Regions from separate parts of the Homo sapiens genome. Here region 2 is linked to region 1. Evidence: promoter capture Hi-C in 16 types of primary human blood cells and fetal thymus (Javierre and others, 2016). All regions are on one chromosome and are shown on one strand. The core of a region is centred on a gene start or on the middle of the fragment in contact, and the rest is flanking DNA. Distances in the headings are between cores, read along the strand shown.

Region 1 (7,224 bases), core at 2,072-4,571:
AGCCATCACTTGGTGGGGAGCACAGTGTCTGGGGACAGGTGGAACTAGTAGCCACCCCTGTAACAATGACTAACTTTCAGGTGGGGCGCACAGTGTCTGGGGACAGGTGGAACTAGTAGCCACCCCTGTAACAATGACTAACTTTCAGGTGGGGCACACAGTGTCTGGGGACAGGTGGAACTAGTAGCCACCCCTGTAACAATGACTAACTTTCACGAGTGATTCCGGCAGGCCAAGTGTCTTTTCAGCATGTTTTGTGGGTGATTTTATTTTTATTTATTTATTATTATTATTTTTTGAGACAGAGTTTTGCTCTCGTTGCCCAGGCCGGAGTGCAATGGTGCTATCTTGGCTTACCACAACCTCCACCTTCCGGGTTCAAGCGATTCCCCTGCCTCAGCTTCCCAAGTAGCTGGGATTACAGGCATGAGCTACCATACCCAGCTAAATTTGTATTTTTAGTAGAGACGGGGTTTCTCCATGTTGGTCAGGCTGGTATTGAACTCCTGACCTCAGGTGATCCACCTGCCTCAGCCTCCCAAAGTGATGGGATTACAGGCATGAGCCATCGCGCCCGACCTGTTTTATTTATTTACTTTTTGAGATAGTCTCATTCTGTCTTCTAGGCCAGAGTGCAGTGACGCACTCATGGCTCTCTGCAGCCTCGACCTCCTGGGCTCAAGCAATCCTCCCACCTCAGCCTCCCGAGTAGGTAGGACTACAGGTGCACACCACCAATTGTTTAATTTTTGTAGAGACAGAGTCTCACTATGTTGCCCAGGCTGGTCTTGAACTCTTGACCTCAAAAGATCCTCCCTCCTCAGCCTCCCAGAGCATTGGGATGACAATCATGAGCCATCACAGCTGGCCTGTGGGTGATTTTATTTATTCCTCGAGATAGGTACATTTATTATCTCCATTTACATCTGAGGAAACTGAGGCACAAAGGGGCAAAATAACATTTCCAAGCCTGCTGACTGGTAAGTGGCCAGCATTTGACTGAGGAGGTCTGTCTCTAGAAACCCTGCCCCTGCTGCCCCTTCTGTGTCTGAGTGTGGCAGTCAGACCCCAGAGGGAATCCCACACCTGTAAAATAAAAACAATCAGCTGGCCCTGCTGACCTCGCTGGGGAGCGAAGCCCAGCCTAAAAAGGGATGAGTACCCTGAAAAGGTTCTGCTTGGGTGTGGCCGTGCAGGAAACGCTCCTGCTTTCTTGCCTGCCTGTCATCGATGACCCGAATAATCTCTGCACCAGATCTGTGTTTGTCTCTTCCCTGCTGTAGGTCGCTGTGGCCTTGCCCCTCAGAACAACAGAGCAATGGGCTGCGGCCAGGCAGCGCTCTGCGCTTTGATGAATTTTAAAGCGTTGGAGTGATCACAGGATGTCCGTCCGAGTTTCACAGTTAGCGAGCTGCTGAGCTGAGCCGAGCTGAGGGTTGGCAGGGTAGAGTCCTATGGGAGAAACACTGCTTGGATCACAGAGATTTCTGTGTATCAGGAACCAACAAATACTAAGTAAGCACTTGCTGTGGCTAAATGCTTACCACATCGGCTGAGTAGGGGGTGTGCAGATGGGGGAGTCCCACAGCCCCCAAAACCAGCTACAACATCCACGTTTTACTCAGACAAGGGGCCCTCAAGCACCACCTCATGCCGAAGTGCTGCTTCACGTGAATAGAGCTAGGATTCTAAGCCAAAAGGCCTTTCTAGAACTTTCTGCATGTACCAAAGAAGCTGCTTCCACCTCACTGCCTCCTTTCCACTGTTAGTGTTCTGCTGAGGCTTCTCTTGGGCTCTGCCTCTCCCTGCCCAACACCTGAGAAAGGCCTGATCAGTGCTGGAGGCACTGGGTGGCACCTCTCCTGCGGACGTGCTTCCCACGTAAGGCAGGTATAGGGAGACCTGCCTGTCTAGAAAGACATATGTTTACATGTCAGAGAGAAACACAACACCTGCACTCTCTAACCATTTCCTGAAAGACCCCTCTTGACACACCTTAGGGGCTTCAGGGCCACACTGCCTGGCACAGCTGGTTCCCAGTGTGGACCTGTCTCCACTGCCAGCCCCTGCCCCACCCTCTCCACCTGAGTCCTGATCCCTGGTGACCAAGAGAGGCTGTGCTGCTTCTGGCCTTCACAGTAAGCCAGATGGCCTGGGAAGCGAGACTCTCTCTGCCTCCCAGCACTCCAGGCTGCAGTTGCTGTTTCATCATCCATGGGTGTAAAACACCAAGCAAGTGACATGATACAGAATGACCTCCCTGTGCTGGCAGTGGCACCACAGAAACAGGAAGACTCAGAGCCAGAAGCTGCCTGCGCAGATTGCCATTATGGAGCCTGGGAAATCAAGTCCTAGAAAGATTATCTGTTTTTTTTTTTTTTTTTGAGATAGGAGCTTGCTCTGTCGCCCAGGCTGGAGTGCAGTGGTGTGATCACTGCTCACTGCAGCCTCTGCCTTCTGGGCTCAAGCAATCCTCTAGCTTCATCCTCCCAAGTAGCTGGGACTACAGGCATGCGCCGCCATGCTTGGCTAATTTTTTAAACTTCTTGTAGAGACAAGGTCTCACTATGTTGCCCTGGTTGGTCTTGAACTCCTTGGCTCCAGTGATCCGCCTGCCTCCAGTGATCCTCCCACCTCGGCCTCCCAAAGTGCTGGGATTACAGGCATGAGCCACTGTACCTGTCCTAGAAAGATTAAAGGATACCTCTACGTCTACCTCTACCTCTACCTCTACCTCTACCTCTACCTCTACCTCTACCTCTAACCTCTAACCTCTAACCTCTAACCTCTACCTCTACCTCTACCTCTACCTCTCCCCACGGTCTCCTTCCACGGTCTCCCTCTGATGCCGAGCCGAAGCTGGACTGTACTGCTGCGATCTCGGCTCACTGCAACCTCCCTGCCTGATTCTCCTGCCTCAGCCTGCCGAGTGCCTGTGATTGCAGGCACGCGCCGCCACGCCTGACTGGTTTTCGTTTTTTTTTGGTGGAGACGGGGTTTCGCTGTGTTGGCCGGGCTGGTCTCCAGCTCCTAACCGCGAGTGATCCGCCAGCCTCGGCCTTCCGAGGTGCTGGGATTGCAGACGGAGTCTCGTTCACTCAGTGCTCAATGGTGCCCAGGCTGGAGTGCAGCGGCGTGATCTCGGCTCACTACAACCTACACCTCCCAGCCGCCTGCCTTGGCCTCCCAAAGAGCCGAGATTGCAGCCTCTGCCCGGCCGCCACCCCGTCTGGAAAGTGAGGAGCGTCTCTGCCTGGCCGCCCATCGTCTGAGAGGTGGGGAGCACCTCTGCCTGGCAACCACCCCGTCTGAGAAGTGAGGAGCCCCTCCGTCCAGCAGCCACCCCGTCTGGGAAGTGAGGAGCGTCTCCGCCCGGCAGCCACCCCGTCCGGGGGGGAGGTGGGGGGGGTCAGCCCCCCGCCCGGCCAGCCGCCCCGTCCGGGAGGTGAGGGGCTCCTCTGCCCGGCCGCCCCTACTGGGAAGTGAGGAGCCCCTCTGCCCGGCCAGTCGCCCCGTCCAGGAGGGAGGTGGGGGGGTCAGCCCCCCGCCCGGCCAGCCACCCAGTCCGGGAGGGGGGAGGGGGGTCAGCCCCCTGCCCGGCCAGCCGCCCCGTCCGGGAGGGAGGTGGGGGGATCAGCCCCCCGCCTGGCCAGCCGCCCCGTCCGGGAGGTGAGGGGCGCCTCTACCCGGCCGCCCCTACTGGGAAGTGAGGACTCCTCTGCCCGGCCAGCCGCCCCGTCCGGGAGGGAGGTGGGGGGTCAGCCCCCCGCCCGGCCAGCCGCCCCGTCCGGGAGGGAGGTGGGGGGATCAGCCCCCCGCCTGGCCAGCCGCCCCGTCCGGGAGGTGAGGGGCGCCTCTGCCCGGCTGCCCCTACTGGGAAGTGAGGAGCCCCTCTGCCCGGCCAGCCGCCTCGTCCGGGAGGGAGGTGGGGGGTCAGCCCCCCGCCCGGCCAGCCGCCCCGTCCGGGAGGGAGGTGGGGGGATCAGCCCCCCGCCCGGCCAGCCACCCCGTCCGGGAGGTGAGGGGCGCCTCTGCCCGGCCGCCCCTACTGGGAAGTGAGGAGCCCCTCTGCCCGGCCAGCCGCCCCGTCCGGGAGGGAGGTGGGGGGTCAGCCCCCCGCCCGGCCAGCCGCCCCGTCCGGGAGGGAGGTGGGGGGATCAGCCCCCCGCCCGGCCAGCCGCCCCGTCCGGGAGGTGAGGGGCGCCTCTGCCCGGCCGCCCCTACTGGGAAGTGAGGAGCCCCTCTGCCCGGCCAGCCGCCCCGTCCGGGAGGGAGGTGGGGGGGTCAGCCCCCCGCCCGGCCAGCCGCCCCGTCCGGGAGGTGAGGGGCGCCTCTGCCCGGCCGCCCCTACTGGGAAGTGAGGAGCCCCTCTGCCCGGCCAGCCGCCCCGTCCGGGAGGGAGGTGGGGGGGTCAGCCCCCCGCCCGGCCAGCCGCCCCGTCCGGGAGGTGAGGGGCGCCTCTGCCCGGCCGCCCCTACTGGGAAGTGAGGAGCCCCTCTGCCCGGCCAGCCGCCCCGTCCGGGAGGGAGGTGGCGGGGGTCAGCCCCCCGCCCGGCCAGCCGCCCCGTCCGGGAGGTGAGGGGCGCTTCTGCCCGGCCGCCCCTACTGGGAAGTGAGGAGCCCCTCTGCCCGGCCACGACCCCGTCTGGGAGGTGTGCCCAGCGGCTCATTGGGGATGGGCCATGATGACAATGGCGGCTTTGTGGAATAGAAAGGCGGGAAGGGTGGGGAAAAAATTGAGAAATCGGATGGTTGCCGGGTCTGTGTGGATAGAAGTAGACATGGGAGACTTTTCATTTTGTTCTGTACTAAGAAAAATTCTTCTGCCTTGGGATCCTGTTGATCTATGACCTTACCCCCAACCCCATGCTCTCTGAAACATGTGCTGTGTCCACTCAGGGTTAAATGGATTAAGGGCGGTGCAAGATGTGCTTTGTTAAACAGATGCTTGAAGGCAGCATGCTCGTTAAGAGTCATCACCACTCCCTAATCTTAAGTACCCAGGGACACAAACACTGCGGAAGGCCACAGGGTCCTCTGCCTAGGAAAACCAGAGACCTTTGTTCACTTGTTTATCTGCTGACCTTCCCTCCACTATTGTCCTATGACCCTGCCAAATCCCCTTCTGCAAGAAACACCCAAGAATGATCAATAAAAAAAAAAAAAAAAAAAAAAAGAAGAGTTCCAAAAAATTTAACAGCATTTCCAGCAATGATTATTTCTGAAATAAAAAGATATGAAACATAATTTATACAAAACTAAAAAAAAAAAAAAAAAAAAAAAAAAGGATTAAAGGATCAACCATCAGGTCCCTAACCACAGACCCAAAGACGGAAGCCTTGGCAGGTAATAGTAGTAGTAATAATAATAACAATAACCCACAGCATCGCCAGGCATCATGCAGCTCTGTGAGTGCAGCCCCATAGCAAGCCCCAAAGGTAGATGCTCTTCTTCTTCTCATCTTACAGAGGCACCCAGGGGCTTGGTGACTTCCCCAAGGCCACACAGCCTGCTAACTGTGCTAAGTGGTGACCCGTTCCCTTGAATGGTAACCACGCCATCTGGCTCAAAACTACTGGCCAGCACTGCCTCTCACAGAGACTCCTGTCCCATCCAATGTGGATAAATAAGCATAGATAAGAGAGAGGCGGAAGGAAGGCCCAGCCACCCACCCAGCTGCAGAGTCCCTGCCTTTAATCCTCAGAACCTGCCTGTCCCTGAGGGCAGATGTAATGAAAGAAGGTTTGAATCTTCTAGTTTTATCTGAAAGGACACAGCTGGCCCTGAATGCCGTTCACCCAATAACCCACACGGGAGAGACTCCAGATGTTGTCTTAATGCCCGAGCCTCAGCTCCCACTTACCCTCTTTCCTGGGCTTTGATCGCATGAGTCTTAATCCCCGCTGGTGACCTGGCCTCCATCCACCTGTTTCCGTCCACTATCTGGGAAGGCAGCAATGCCAACCTCTTCGGAATTCTTTGGCCTAAACACCTGTTCCCATCAACGATTCCTGTTCCTGAAACCTCCTGCCTTCCCAAGGGATGGCACCAACACAGCTGGAGTGAGGCTGTCACTGCTCCCTCCAGCAAATGTCCCCAAATCATCAAAAAAAAGGAAAGCTTAGTTAATATCTTGCAATTAAAAGTCAGGAGATGTGTCTGCTTAATAACAAATTAGATGATTTCTTCCAAAGTGGACAAAATATGATTAAAAGTTGAGATTCTTATTACACATCGAGAAAACTTAGCTCCCTACAAAAACAAAGAGTTTTGCTGTAGTTCATTCCAAGGCTTTGCAATGCAAACAACCATGAATGAAGACTTAGGAGCCTGCCTGGATGGTGGCTCTGAGCATGGGCTAAGCCCCCAGCAGGCTGAATTAGAGCTTACTAGCTGTGTGGCTTTGTCCTCCAACCTCTCTGAGTCTTATTCTCTTCCCTCCAAAGTGGGGCAGGAATCATAACCACAGATGCTGGGATGCTGCACGAGAGAAACTCTTGGGGATCAATTCCTGTCACTAACGCTAGCTGCTCTCAGCCACTCTTCTCTTTAGACCTCAGCAAGACCAGCGGGGCTCAGTCATGCCCGTCTGTACCCACAGCTGTCAATCCCAGGTCGAGGGCTTAGGTCAGGGAGAAGATGAAACGAGCCCAAGGAGGGAGGAATAGAAATAGGGCCACGGGGCAGAGAAGCAGAAGGTGCTGGGGTTGGGAGGAACTGGTGCTGTGGTCCCCCCTTCAGCTCTTTCTTGGACAGACACTCAAGAGTGTCCCATGGGGATACCCACGGTGTGTCTGCTCCTGCACAGCCCCTCTGGATGCCGATAGAGTCGGTTTGACGTTTGACCTGCCTCACGGGCCTTGCTTCACTCTTCCTGCGCATCTGGCCTGTCCTCCGTGAGCTCCGCAGCCAGGGTGCATGGTCTTTGAATTTCTGTGGAGTGTGCCCTTCCCATCCACGTTTGTATCTTGACAGTGTGGAGGAAAGAGTGAGGCTTCCTTCCCCTGGCAGCTGAGCCCTGAGGCTCCTGTACTGGCCTGTCTTGAAAACTGCCCCCGAGTTGCTTGTATAACAAATAAGGTTCCAGATTTCAAAGCTTCATAGACCACTGTGGGGGATGGGAACAGCCTTGAGAAATCACCCGCTTCAAACCGATTCTCTGTTCTCTGAAGCCACATAAACGGATGCAGCATCAATGACTTTATCTTTTTTTAACTGCACCCT
Region 2 (6,778 bases), core at 2,422-4,921, 170 kb after region 1:
ACAGGAAGTAAGGAGTGCAGTGTTGTTAAATATCTATACCTGATATGGATATTTAAGTCTATCAACTACTGTATTTATATTCTCAACTCTAACATTTAATGTTTTCACTATTGTTGTTTCCCTGAAATTCTATAATTCACTTTGTATTTCCCTCTGACTCAAAAGTTGGTTAATAAGGAATCATACGATTTCTAGGTCAAGGCCTTTTTGGTTTTGTGACTTTCTTATCAATTTCTAGTTTCATTGCATTGTGATTAGAAAATGTTTTCTGCATTATCTCTCCTCTTTAGAACTAATTGAAGTTATTTGTGTGGTTTATTAGTTAATTTTGGAAGTGTCCCATGGTCACTTGGAAAGACAATATAGTCTATATTTTTAGGATTTAAAGTTTAGTAGATATCCCTCAGGTATACTAAATTGATCATGTCATTTTGGTCTTTTATATCATTACTTTCTTTTGTACATTTGCTCCAACCTGGGCTGAGAGAATTTGCATTTTCTATAAGTGACCACTGGTACCAGCCAAGGTGGAATACGTGCACTTCCGTCTACCGTCCCACTGGGAACGCTGAAAACTCTGGGAGGAACATAAAGAACAACTCCCTGAGCCCTCTAAAAAGTAAGTAACGACAAAAGGATGGGCAACTGATGTCAAAACTTGATAATGACCCCAAATGGGGGTGAGTTTTGCCTTGTTCCTCTTTCTTTGTCTCTTAGCTCTGACCTGAGGGTGGGTTGAATCTCAGAACTGTGCAGTGGGCCCAGAAGACAAAAATCTGGGATAAAACCTCTCTTTCCAGCCAAAGGACCAGGAAAAGGGACCCCTGCGTGCCAGGGAGTGTGGGAGAAATTTTCACTATTCTTTTTCTTTCCTCTCTTGACCCTGACCCAAGGCCAGCTCCAGCTGTGGAGCTGCACCACTATGCTGCTGGTCCTGGTGCTGGAAGCCCTGAAACTTTGATGAAAGACCCAACTCTCCAACCAGAGGAACTGGAAATGGAGTGGGGTGAATCCCTGTTTATTTCTTCCTCTTTACTGTTGCCACTTGGCTCCAAAGATGGCCCCAGTCATGTGGAACTATACAATAGCACAAAGAATTAAAAAGCTAAGAAAAACCTGATTTTCTGGACAGAAGAAAACTGGAAAAAGAGCTCCAGCTGTTTTAAAAATGGGGGGATAATCCCTGTTAATTTTTTTGTCTTTTCTTTTACCAATTTATTCCTAAGGTAGTCCTAGTCACGCAGAGCTGCATGGCAGTGCGGGAAGCTAAATCTTGGAGATAACACTATCTTTCTGTCCAGAAGAACCAGGAAAGGAGAGCCCTGAATGCCAAAAATTGTGGGAGATATCCTGGAAATTGTCAGTGAACTTGAAGATTAATCAATAGGAATTACACAGCCTGAAGATTGAGAGAAAAAAAAATGAAACAAAAACAGAGCCTCAAGCACCTGTGAGACAATATCAAAAAGTCTAATACTCTTATTATTGGAGTCTCAGAAGAAGAGGAGGAGGACACTGGTGCAGAAAAATATTGAAGAAATAATGGTTGTAAACTTCCCAGACTTGATGAAAAACGTATATATATATAGGTTCAAGAAGGTTAACAAACTCTAAACAAGATAAACTTAAAAAAAATGCATTGTAAATGAAAATCAAAGGTAAAGGAAAGACAATTAAAAGCAACCAGATAAAAACAGTATACTATGTATCAGAGAAGAGTACTTTGGATAACTGCAAATTTCTCATCAGAAAATAGGAAGCAGGAAGATGGTGGAACAACATCTATAAATTACTGAAAGAAAATAATTGTCAACCCAGAATTCTATATCCAGCAAAAATATCTTAGAAATGACAGTGAAATAAGGACATACTCAGATTAAGAGAAAGTAAGAGAATTTGTCACTAACAGACCTATAAAAGAAATGCTTAGCCAAGTTCTTCAGGAAAAAGGAAGATGATCTGGAGGAACACTTGGAACTTCAGGAATGGCATTAGAGCAACAGAAATGATAAATATCTGGTAAATATAATGAATTCTTTTTCTCTTTTTAAATTATTTAAAATGTATATGACTGTTGAAAGCAAATATTGTAACATTTTCTGGGTATAATTATTACTGAGATGTGGTACATATGACAATTATAACATAAGGAGAGGAGGATAAATGAACCAATAGAGTCATAAGCCTTCTATAATATACTTGAAATGGTAAGATATGAACTCTAAGTGGACTATAAAATGTTAAATATATGTATTGTAATCCCTAGAGAAACTACTAATAAACTGATACAAAAAGATATAGCCAGAAAGGACAATGGATTATTTAAAATGGAATAAAAAATATATTCAAATAACCCAAGGAAGGCAGGACCATGGGAAGAGGGTAACACAAAGCAAAAGAAATGAACAAAATCTCCTATAAGCCATGTGTTTTTGCCTATTTTCTTTGTCTTCTCTGTAATTTCTGCTTTTTGAAAGCCTCTTTTACAATACTTAGTCTGTTGATATTCATTACTGCTAATTTTTTTTATAAATTATGAGGCAAAATGATTCAAAGTACCTTGACTTTATTTCATTTAATGTTTTTTGTTTGGCTGAAAAACTACCTTGTTTCATACAAGGACTGAGACCCCTGCTTTTTCTGTTTTCAATTGCAAAGTGGGGACTGATCCTGGCATCTGTTTCACATCAGCCGGTGGATTAACATGTTCATAACAGGTAAAACCCCTATGCCAGGCTTCCTCAACCTCTGCCTCATTGACACTTTGGGCCTGGTGATTCTCTGTGGCAGGGGCTGCCCTGTGCCTTGTAGGATGTTTAGTAACATCCCCGGTCTCCGTTCATTCACTGATGCCAGCAGCACCCTCCACACCCCTCCCCAGCTGGGACAATCCAAACTGTCCCCAGACATGGCCAAGCTTGTCCAGGGGGATGAAGCCTCTCTGGATGAGAAGCACTGACCTGGACAGTGCGGCACAGGTTTGTGCTGTGTGCTTGTTCGCCATGGCCTGCATATCCCAGCTCTGTCCCGATGGCATGGAGCACGGCGGTGTACCCTCCACCCGGAGTTGTCAGGATGATTAGGACGCCCCATGCTCCCAAGGCTTTCCGCGAGGCTGTCATGACTACACAAACATCCTGCAAAGTTGCAGCTTTCAGCCCCTGCAGCACCCCGATCCATTGCCCCTCAGACCCTGCTCAGGGGCAATCCACCCCTAGTGAGGGCGGAGGAGGTGGGGGAGGCGCTGGATATGAAGCCACTGTGTAACACACAAAGCACTATTCAGAAATCAGTGTTACTATCTCTCCCTGGATGGCACAGAGTGGATTAAGGAGCAAAGACAAATTGCTGGGCTCTTGCGACTCTGACCTCTGGGTCATATTTGCTTCTCTGCGAACAATGCAGATTGTCCTCCTGCAAGCTGTTTACAGCTGAGAATAAGCAGACGGCGAAGCAGTTAGTCTCCTTCAACCTTGGCTGTTGCATCCTTAACCAATGGTAACACCTTCCTCACATAGTGCTGAGAAAGAAATCAGGCACTTATTAAATTGTAAAGCACTGAACAAAGTATAGGCTGGTATACTGATAATGATGCATAACTCTGTAGCTCTGGGGTTAATTCTCAAAAAGCACCTTCAAACTTTCTGATTAATAATAGCGCTATCCCACTAAGAACTTAGCCTCCTTACCAGATGCACACTGGAGAAAGTGTGTTCAAAGGATTCACTGTTGCTTGTTGGCTATACCATGCATTATATATCATGCTCCAACTGGTTTTAATACGACCTTATTTGCCTCTCCAAATTCTTTATAAGTAAAGGATGATGCAGTTAAAAGAAGGAGTAACAATGAACTGTGCATCAGACGTTGGGTGAACAAGCAGGCCCAGGCCCCACTAGAGGGTGATTCAACTCAAGAGAGTGGGAGGAGGATAGAAGGAAACAGGGAATGTGGCTTCCACACTGTCCCCTCCACAGCACAGTGTCTGCCCCCATGCCATGCTGGTTTTGCAATATCACCTTCATGAGTCTGTCTCTTTGTGTGATTTTGAAGCTGTTCTGCAGACACTATCATTGCAGCATCTTCTTTCATTTCCTTCTCCGGAAATTAATAACATTTGCTTCTTAAAAATAAACCTGAAAGAAAGCAATTTTATGTATGTGTTAAGTTACACTCTAGATTTAGAGCTTGTTCCACACATTCCTGTTCTGAAAGGGTCCTGGGCACTGAAAACTCTAGGCTGTAGGGTTGAGGATGTGGAGAAGGGACCCGCTGAGCTCTGAGGATGGTCTGCGGTTGGAAGCCGGGGGTCAGTGCTCAGAGGAGCAGCCCCACATACCCCATCTGGGTGGGTGCTTTGTAGTCTTCTCATGGGGAGAATGGGCTCCTTCCCCTCCGCTAGTGCCGGGCTGGCCCTGAAGCTTGCTCAGGGGTGGGAGGGATGAGGCTGGGTAACTTCCTCTTCAAATGCCTGGGGCTCTTGCTTCCCCATCCTGGGAACTGTCCTCTTGGAGGCTAGCACCTTTGTGAAGTCTGACCATTGGGACTGCCATGCTGGGAGGCAGCCCAAGTGCAGCGCAGAGAGTCGGGGTGTGTGTCCAGTTGCCCTGTGGTTCCAACCGTCTCAGCTTAGGCATGTGAGGGAAGGTATTCGCGTCCTGGGGTGGCTGTAACAAATCACCACAAACCAGGTGGCTGAGAATAACAGAAATGTCTCCTCTTGCTGCTCTGCAGTCCCGAGGTCTGGAATCAAGGTGCCAGCAGGTCCCACTCCCTCCAGAGGCCCTGGAGAGAATCTATCTTTGTCTCCTGGTGGCTGCTGAGATTCCTTGGTTTGTGGCTGCATCCCCCAGTCTCTGCCTCTGTCTTCAAGACCCTTGTCTGTCCTCTGTGGTGCTTCTGATTTCCCTCTGCCCATCTTATGGGGACACATGTGACTGTACCTAGGACTCCATTGGATAGCCCAGGATCAGCAACTCCTCTCGAGGTCCTTAACTTCATTGCGTTTTGCTGTACAACATAACAGACCCCAGTCCCACTGGCACCTCCTCCTCTGATTTCTGAGCTCCCACTGTCTGCACCAGTGGCTTGAAATGTTCTACGTATTTCCTGAAATGTATTTTGTATTATTTAATCTTCAGGTGTTGCTTTTGTGGACACCGCTAGATTGCTTGCTCCCTGAGGTCAGGGGCTGTGTCTCACGGGGCTAGTTCCTCAAAGACACGGGACACAGACTGACTCCAGCATCTGTCAAAGATTCCTCCACTTCTGACACCATTGAAGCAGAGACTCCCTTCCTTTCTCCTCTCACACAGCCTCTTTTCACCTGAAAGAGGTTTCTACTTCTCAGGTTTGGCAACAAGCTTAGGTTCCTCTCTTTGACGCTGTCTATGGAATCACAAATGCCACCTGCCTCCCCTCTCAGCCTTCATCTTTCTGGATGAAAGAGTCTTTCCAGTTTTCCTCCCTCCCCACGTGCATGCCCCGGCTTAGGGTAACCATTCCCTGTGATGCTGTGGACATCATTTCCCCAGGGGTTAACCTCAACCTCATCTCAAATTTCTCTCCTGATTCAGTTAACTACTTGAGTAAACCTTATAAACTTAACAGTTAAATATAAGACTCTCATACAAATCTGGAATGAACACATCAGAGATTTGCTTAGCCCAGACTGGGAAAGGGCAAAATTGTACAACTGGTTCAAAGAGTGGCTGACAGAGTTTTGTTTCATCAGCCAACACAGCCCCTGTAAAGGAAGTCTGCTAAGTTAGAGGCCAAAGTGATCAATATCCTACCGCAAACTAAAACCACGGCCTTGGGGGCCAGTAGTTTCAGTGATTTCATTCTCCACCAGACTGAAATCATTTGCATCTCTACTGACAAAATATCTACAAATTAACATGTAACTTCACAAAGTCTAGGCCCTAATCAATGGTAAATAGCAAGTCAAATGAAGGTCCAGTCCTCCCCAAAAATAATGAAGCCAGCCTGGGGTGGACTTGAATGATGGGTGGGTCTTGGCTGTATGGTGACTGCCAAGCACTGGGTGATTTTCTTTTTTTTCTTTTTCACTTTTTTTTTTTTCTGAGATGGAGTCTCGCTCTGTCACCCAGGCTGGAGTGCGGTGGCGTGATCTCTGCTCACTGCAACCTCTGTCTCCTGGGTTCAAGTGATTTTCCTGCCTCAGCCTCCTGAATAGCTGGGATTACAGGCATGCACCATCACGCAGGGCTAAGTTTGGTGTTTTTAGTACAGACGGGGTATCACCATGTTGTCCAGGCTGGTCTGGAACTTCAGACCTCAGGTGATCCACCTGCCTTAGCCTCCCAAAGTGCTGGGATTACAGACATGAGCCCCCGTGATCGGTCCGCGATTTTCTTATACATAGGATAGATGGGGTGAACTCAGTGGGTGCTGGATGGATTGACGGAGGACCCACCCTATGTATAGACGGCCGGGATGGATCCTCTGTGAAATGTAGTTTTAAAGACTGGCAGGTTTCCGACCCCTGACCCTGTGCCCTGGGCCTGGGCACCCACCCGTCCTCTGCACCTGCGCCTCTCAGCAGCCCTAACTGCAGAGCTCTGCTCCCGGACCCGGCCCCCGTGGCAAGTGGGAGGAAGGGAAGGCCCAGGGCCAGAAGCCGAGGCCACAGGTCAGCCCCCACCCCCACACACCTGTAATGTAAAATGCCCATTTAGCCAAATTTAAAAAGTAACCAGAAACAGGTGGAATGCATGTTAATAATGTCCTGTTTAATCCAGTCCCGCTGGAACAT

Evidence for each region. The method cuts DNA at HindIII sites, captures the fragments that hold promoters and counts their contacts. A CHiCAGO score of 5 or more calls a contact.
Region 2: a contact is called between a fragment that was not itself captured here and the fragment with the promoter of BLACE in region 1, in 5 of 17 cell types (M0 macrophages, M1 macrophages, M2 macrophages and 2 more). The highest score is 9.8, in M0 macrophages.

What each region holds. Positions count from the first base shown.
Region 1 is chr7:155,364,030-155,371,253 of GRCh38, reverse strand. BLACE (B cell acute lymphoblastic leukemia expressed) reads left to right here and starts at 3,321. Exons shown (of 6, transcript NR_103545.1): 1 at 3,321-3,445. It overlaps LOC105375593 (a long non-coding RNA gene), which reads right to left and starts at 7,073. Exons shown (of 3, transcript XR_928236.4): 1 at 6,788-7,073; 2 at 5,864-6,074; 3 at 223-1,452. The HindIII fragment of the contact is 7,901 bases long and covers 1-6,122 here.
Region 2 is chr7:155,191,103-155,197,880 of GRCh38, reverse strand. LOC124901782 (a long non-coding RNA gene) reads left to right here. Exons shown (of 2, transcript XR_007060602.1): 1 at 1-619; 2 at 894-2,296. Among named protein-coding and RNA genes, the nearest start is that of INSIG1, 100 kb to the left of the region's middle. The HindIII fragment of the contact is 1,504 bases long and covers 2,920-4,423 here.